Regions from separate parts of the Homo sapiens genome. Here region 2 is linked to region 1. The links are contacts of gene promoters, found by promoter capture Hi-C in blood cells and fetal thymus (Javierre and others, 2016). All regions are on one chromosome and are shown on one strand. The core of a region is centred on a gene start or on the middle of the fragment in contact, and the rest is flanking DNA. Distances in the headings are between cores, read along the strand shown.

Region 1 (3,166 bases), core at 484-2,983:
TCCTGTGAACAACAGCCTCACCCCTTGCATGAGAGTTCCAGCTTAGTGTACAGATTTTGGACTTGCTTAGCTGGGGCTCCACAATCATGTAAGCCAATTCCTTACAATAAGCCTTTTGATATCCATCTACTACTAGTTCTGTTTCTCTGGTTGGAAACTGAGTATGTGACATCCGAGACATAAAGGGTCAGAAGGTGTTAGGGTGGGGGCAAGTGGAAGCGGTTGGGGGTGGAGAGTCAGCTTTGCTTTTTTGGAGAATGAGGGTGTGATCGAACACATAGAAAGAGAAAGAGAGAAGTAGGCAGGGGCTGGATGTAGCTCAGAGATAGGTTATGGAAAGCAGTTTGGATTTTAGATTTTAAGAGGAAGGGGAAATAACTGAATTTGGCTCTTATTTTTAATTTTTTTCCATTAAAAAAATACATTATAGAAAAAATATATAGAGACGGGATCATGCTGTGTTGACCAGGCTGGTCTCCAACTCCTGGCCTCAAGCGATCCTCCCATCTCGGCCCCCCAAAGTGCTGGGATTACCGGTTTGAGCCACGCGCCTGGCCTCAATTTGTCTTTTAAAGGATGATTTTGACTACAAGAGAACTACTTGGATCAGGGTTGGGGGTGGGAGATGAGGAGGTGTGATTTCAGAGGCCAAGTACAGAATGAGTGAACAACTGGGAGAGACACATCGGCTGAGATTAGAGAGATGGTCCGGTAGACAAAAGTGTAAGCATGAGACCCGAGGTAGGACAAGCAGAACTTGCAGATCTATTACAGATGTAGGGGTGAGGAGTGCCAGGGTGACTCTTGAGTGTCTGGCTTGAGCAGCTAGGCAAATGGTGTGGATCAAAAAAGCAGCAGGTTGCAGGGAGGACGGCAGTGTTAATCGAAAGTCATGTTCTGTAAGTTTTAGGTTCGATACGACTCTGAGCGGAGATGTCAATTAGTCAACCGAATGTCAGGTGTGAAGATCGGCACAGAGGGCAGAACCAGAGACATTCATTAGAGAGCAAACAGGTAGAGGGCACTTAACCTATAGGAAGGATGCACTCATATAGAGCGAGAAAAGGGCCAGAAGGAGCCCTAATGAGTAGAGAAAGACAGGCTGAAAAGGACATCGGCGAGGTCAGAGAAATACCTTTAGGGTGTAATTACGCCTACGCGAGTGGGTAAAATGAGGGCATAATGACGCGGACTGGATTGCAATAAACAGCTTTTATTCTTTTATCAGAGACACGATCTAGCTTTTTAGCCCAGGCCGGAGTGCGGTGGCATCCTCACAGCTCGCTGCAGCTTCACTGGGCTCAGGCGATCCTCTCGAGTAGCTGGGGTACAGGCGCAGGCCACCGTGACAGGCTTTTTTTTTTTTTTTTTTTTTTTTTTTTTGAAGAGAGGGTCTCACTATGTTACCCAGGCTAGTCTCGCAGTCTGGCACTCCTGGCCTCAAGCGATCCTCCTGCCTCGGCCTCTCGGCCTCCCAAAGTGCTGGCCTGTGCCCAGTCAATGGCTGTTCCAAATTAGGGTCTACCCATCTCTATGCAGGGCTAAAGTCCGCGGGCGGCCCCGCACCGCTACCAAAAGTACAGTCCTGTGCGCCCAGACGCGACGCAAACAAGAGTCGCAAGCTTCCGGGTCCCCGCCCCACCCCGGCTCCGCCCCTCCCCCAACCCTGCCAGGCTCTCCAATCGCATGTGGAATTATCGCTCTACCCAGGCGGTGGTGTCGATCTACGTTCCAATTGGGGCCGTACCATGGCGGAGAAGACTCAAAAGAGGTGGGTTTGCTGCTTGAGAAAAGCCTTTTCTCAGCTTTCCGTAGGGGTGGAACCTGTTCCTGGTCGCCAATGGTGGCGACTCAGAAGGTGTCTCATCCTGGGCATTCGGGCCGAAGGTACCTGAAGCCCAGACCTGGCGTCCACTGAGGGAGGGGGCGACGGAGTGGGGGCGGGGAGGGTTGAGAAGGGACGCGGAGTCGCTGCCTGGAAGGTTTTTGTTCCTGTCTGGCCGTCCCTCCCCACATGCGCCTGCGCAGAGGGGGTCTCCCGGCCGGGAGGGCGGGGGGGGCTGTGAGGGGAGGGTGACGTCAGCTTTTTCCTGGGGAAGGCCGGCTCCCTTCTCCCGCATAATCGGCGGTGCTTGGCGCCGCTGTACCCCACGGCTTGGCGCTGGATTCTCTGCTGCATGTTGCGAGACCCCCACGCCAGTGCTGGCCGCACCCCAGGCCCTTCCTGTCTCTGGAGGGTGGGGTGTGTAAAGGGATTTACGGTCGCTGTCAAAAGGGGGGCCGCGCCTGGACTTGAACTGTGACACACACACACACACATTATATAGATGCAAGGAGTACTTGCGCAGATTTGTTGCATAGATAAATTGCGTAATGGTGAAGTTGGCTTCTAGTGTACTTACCACCCAAATAGTGAACATTGTATCAGATGGGTAATTTTTCAGCCCTCAAACCCCTCCTACCCTCGCTGCTTTTAGAGTCCCCAGTGTCTGTTATTTCCCTCTTTATGTTTATGTGTACTCATTTTAGCTCCCACTTAAAAGTGAGAACATGTGCATTTGATTTTATTTCTGAGTTATCGCGTAAGGTAATGGCCTCCAGTTCCATCCATGTTGTTGCAAAAGACATGTTTCCTTTCTTTTTGATGGCTCTGTAGTATTCCATCGTATAGATACACCACATTTCCTTTATCCAGTCATCCGTTGATGAACACTTAGGTTGATTCCATACTTTGCTATTGTGAATAGTACAGTGATAGTCATAGGAGTGCAGTTGTCTTTTTAATACAATGGTTTCCTTTGAGTAGATCCTGGGTCGAATGGTAGTTCCGTTTGGATTGGTAGCTCTATATGGATTGCTGGGTCCAATGGTACTTGTGTTTAGTCCTTTGAGAAATCACCATACTATTTTCAATAGATGAACTAATTTATATTCCCACCAATAGTGTATAAGCTTAGAACTGTGACATTTTTTGCCAGGCGTGGAGTGGACAAGCTCCTTTGTAAACATGTGGGGACAGGAAGTTTGGCTTCTTCTCCGGTAGTCTTCATTGCTGGGGGCTGTTGGTGGCTGTTGGTGGCTGGGATGAGACAAGTGCATAAGTAAAGCCATTTCGAACAGCAGCAGTGTTGAGCTCCCTCTGCTGACTATTTTTGACAAAGAAAAC
Region 2 (3,166 bases), core at 299-2,798, 820 kb before region 1:
GAAATAAAATAAAAACTATGACTCAATGCTCCTTGTGTCTTCCTCCCCGTCCAAAAACTCTTACCATCTAGGCACTGAAGCCATGCAAGGGGAAGGGGACTGGCTCTGCAAGCTAAGCCTGTGTGTAGGTCCATCTTCCCTCCTCCCTCCCAACCCAACATCCAATGTATAAGCCTTCCCAATGAGGAAGAGGGGGAATGGGGACCCTTGGATTCAGTGCCTCCAATGTCCACCTTCAACCCAGGCTTACAGGGGTTCCTTATCCTTCCCACCCGCCCTCAAACCCAGGAACCCCAGAGCAGGGCCAGCCTACCGATGTACTCTATGGCTTCCATGAACCAGGAGCTGATGTCGGCCTTGTGGTTATCTTCCACTGGGATGCACTTGTACTGATAGTGTCCTTCAAAGTGGTTTGGGCAGTCCGAGGAGACATTCAACAGAGCCGTGATGCCCAGGGCGTCCAGCATGTCTCTCCGGGCAGCATGGTAGGCACTGCCGAGGTAGAGGAAGGGAAGGATCTCCACAGGACCCCCCTGCACAGAAAGGGAAACAAAGGCCCCTGAATGACATGAGGGTAAAGTGCTTGGCACAGGGAGTGGAAGCTTGTCTGAGAAGAGCTTTCCTTTCCAAACCCAGGGAGAATGCCTGCTGGGCCTGGCCCTCCCAGCCTCCCCCTGTAGCCTCCTGGAACTCTTGGAGGGGTGATAGGCCCAGTGGGACTTCTCCAGCCTTTGCCCTCTACTTGTGAGCAGAGAGGCCAGGGCAGGTAAAGTCTTGTGGGACTCTCCTGCACCTCCCCCATGGCAAAATAAGCGGCAGGACAATGCCGGCCTTATGGCACCATCTGTGACACTGAGTTTATATCTGCTAATCATCAAGCCATTTGCTGTGTGGTTTAGATACTTATTTGTTTTGATATGTATTCACTGGGCATATCAAAAACAGGTGTGCAGTGGCTCACACCTGTAATCTCAGCACTTTAGGAGGCTGAGGTGGCAGGATCATGTGAGCCAGGAGTTCCAAGACCAGCATGGGCAACACAGTGAGACCTCATCTCTCAAACAATGAAGCTGGCATGATGGTGCACACCTGTAGTCTCAGTTGCTTGGGAGGCTGAAATGGGAGGATCATTTGAGCCCAGGACTTTGAAGCTGCAGTGAGCTATGATTGCGCCACAGGACTCAAGCCTGGGTAACAGAGTGAGACTCTGTCTCTAAAAATAAACAAATAAATAAGCTGATGCCCTCATGGCCACACAGACAAGAGAGAGGATCTTGGCAAAATGAGGCAACAGTGGCTTAAATTTAGCACATGAGATGTGGGCAGCAGAGTCCATCTAACTGAAAGGGCTGGAGGGTGGGCTTATAAGAAACACAGTGGCTCAAGCAGGTTTTCTTGGAGGGAGGGTGGGTGACCATCTATGTTCATTCGGCTGATACGTGGGAGCAGCCTGCCTGTCGGGGACTGAGATGTATTTCATGGCCTGCTACTTCAGAGGAGAATGACCTCAGCTTCCCAGAGAGCAGGTCCCCCAGGGCTTCTGGAGGCCTCCTCACTTGTCCGGACACGACGTTAGAGGCCAAGCCAGGGAGTCATGTCTTTAGACTTTTTTCTTAGGAGGATATTTAGAGAGGGAAGGGGAAGATTTCCAAGAAGTAAATAGGTCCTACCTAACATCCCACCCCAATACTCCGGGTTCACCGCATTCTCCCCAAATTGAGGCATAACATTCAAAGACTTAAAAAAATCTCAGGATTGGATGCAGTGGCTCACGCCTGTGATCCCAACACTTTGGGAGGCCAAAGCAGGAGGATCACTTGAGGCCAGGAGTTCAAGACCAGCCTGGGCAACATAGCAAGACCCCCCCCCCCCATCTCTACCAAAAACCTTTTAAAATTAGCCAGGCATGGTAGTGCCACCTGTAGTCCCAGCTACCAGGGAGGATCCCTTGAGCCCAGGAGTTCGAGGCTGCAGTAAGCTATGATCACACCACTGCACTCCTGGGTGACAGAGCAAGACTGTCTCAAAAGCAAAGACAAAAAACACCGTCAGAACTCTGAAAAGAAGGCATCCACTGGCCCCTACGCTGTTCCTGCCCCCCACTTCCAAGCCCTGCCCCCCGAGTCTACCTGGTCGTGTAGTGGGGTCCCACAGGAGCTGCAGCCCAGGTCCAAGGGCTCTGTGGCACTGGGGGGAACCGGGGGTGGGATGGCTGCCAGGGCCTTGGTTTTAGAACAGAATTCTGGGTACTCGGAGGAAAACCTCTCATAGCCGCCTGTAAAGGAGAAAGAAGCTCAGGTTAATGGGGTCACTAAGCCAGCAGGAAGTCAGAAAGAACTCGACTCCTACAGACTCAGGCGGACTGCTAGGAAGGCAGGGGCTGGCGTGCTCCATATTGGCCACTAGGTGGCGCTGTGGACCTAGAGAATGGCCATGGAGTGGTTTCCAGAGATGCAGAGGACACACTCGTCAGGACTGCAGCAAAGCTGGAAGGATAAGCTTTATGGACAAGACTTGGGTTAGAGAGGTAGACATACAAAGGAAGACGTGCAGGGGGATGTGCAGAAGTGACTGTGGAGTAGCTCCTCAGGACAATGACAAAATAGAGAAGCAAAGGTCACGCTGGGCTTCCAAGGACACTAAGTACCTGTAGAGACACCTGCCACCCCTGATTCCAGCCCTTCCTCAGGGGAGGTTCTCCAATGTGAGAAAGAAGGGAAAAAATGACCCTGGTACAAACTCTTCTGGATCTCAGCAATGGAACAGATGTCCATTGCACGTCCTCATGAATAGCTGTTCCGTCACCAAGAGACCAGAACAAGAGGAAAACGGGCTTAAATCTAAATAAACCCCTCATGCTATGTACAGGTTTGGGGCAAGGGAGTATTTCCTGACCTGAGAGTGGGTAAGCCCTGGAATGGTTATCTGTGGGATCATCTTCCAGAGAAGGGAGATCTTTTAAATAAAAAAAGAAGATGATGATAAATGGCCAGCTGAGCTGGGGTAGGGTGAGTGCTCCTATCTAGGAGGGGTGGAGGCAGGTGGGATACAGGGAGAGGCCACAGGGAGGCCATCCAAAAAGACAACCTTTCAAGCCCTATCTCTGGCTTTCTTGTGATCTCTGGGACTTCCTTTTGCGGCCAACTTCCAATCCACAGTGCTATCA

What was found. The method cuts DNA at HindIII sites, captures the fragments that hold promoters and counts their contacts. A CHiCAGO score of 5 or more calls a contact.
Region 2: a contact is called between a fragment that was not itself captured here and the fragment with the promoter of DCTN6 in region 1, in 2 of 17 cell types (M0 macrophages and naive B cells). The highest score is 10.7, in M0 macrophages.

The regions. Positions count from the first base shown.
Region 1 is chr8:30,154,636-30,157,801 of GRCh38, forward strand. DCTN6 (dynactin subunit 6) reads left to right here and starts at 1,734. Exons shown (of 7, transcript NM_006571.4): 1 at 1,734-1,771. The coding sequence starts at 1,749. It overlaps DCTN6-DT (DCTN6 divergent transcript), which reads right to left and starts at 2,025. Exons shown (of 1, transcript NR_186490.1): 1 at 1,194-2,025. It overlaps LOC124901927 (a long non-coding RNA gene), which reads right to left. Exons shown (of 2, transcript XR_007060880.1): 2 at 2,537-3,166. RefSeq lists enhancers at 825-1,034, 859-1,841, 1,785-1,934 and a silencer at 1,995-2,104. The HindIII fragment of the contact is 1,330 bases long and covers 1,621-2,950 here.
Region 2 is chr8:29,337,969-29,341,134 of GRCh38, forward strand. It overlaps DUSP4 (dual specificity phosphatase 4), which reads right to left. Exons shown (of 4, transcript NM_001394.7): 2 at 2,130-2,275; 3 at 314-533. Among named protein-coding and RNA genes, the nearest start is that of DUSP4, 11 kb to the right of the region's middle. RefSeq lists an enhancer at 2,244-2,538. The HindIII fragment of the contact is 1,897 bases long and covers 601-2,497 here.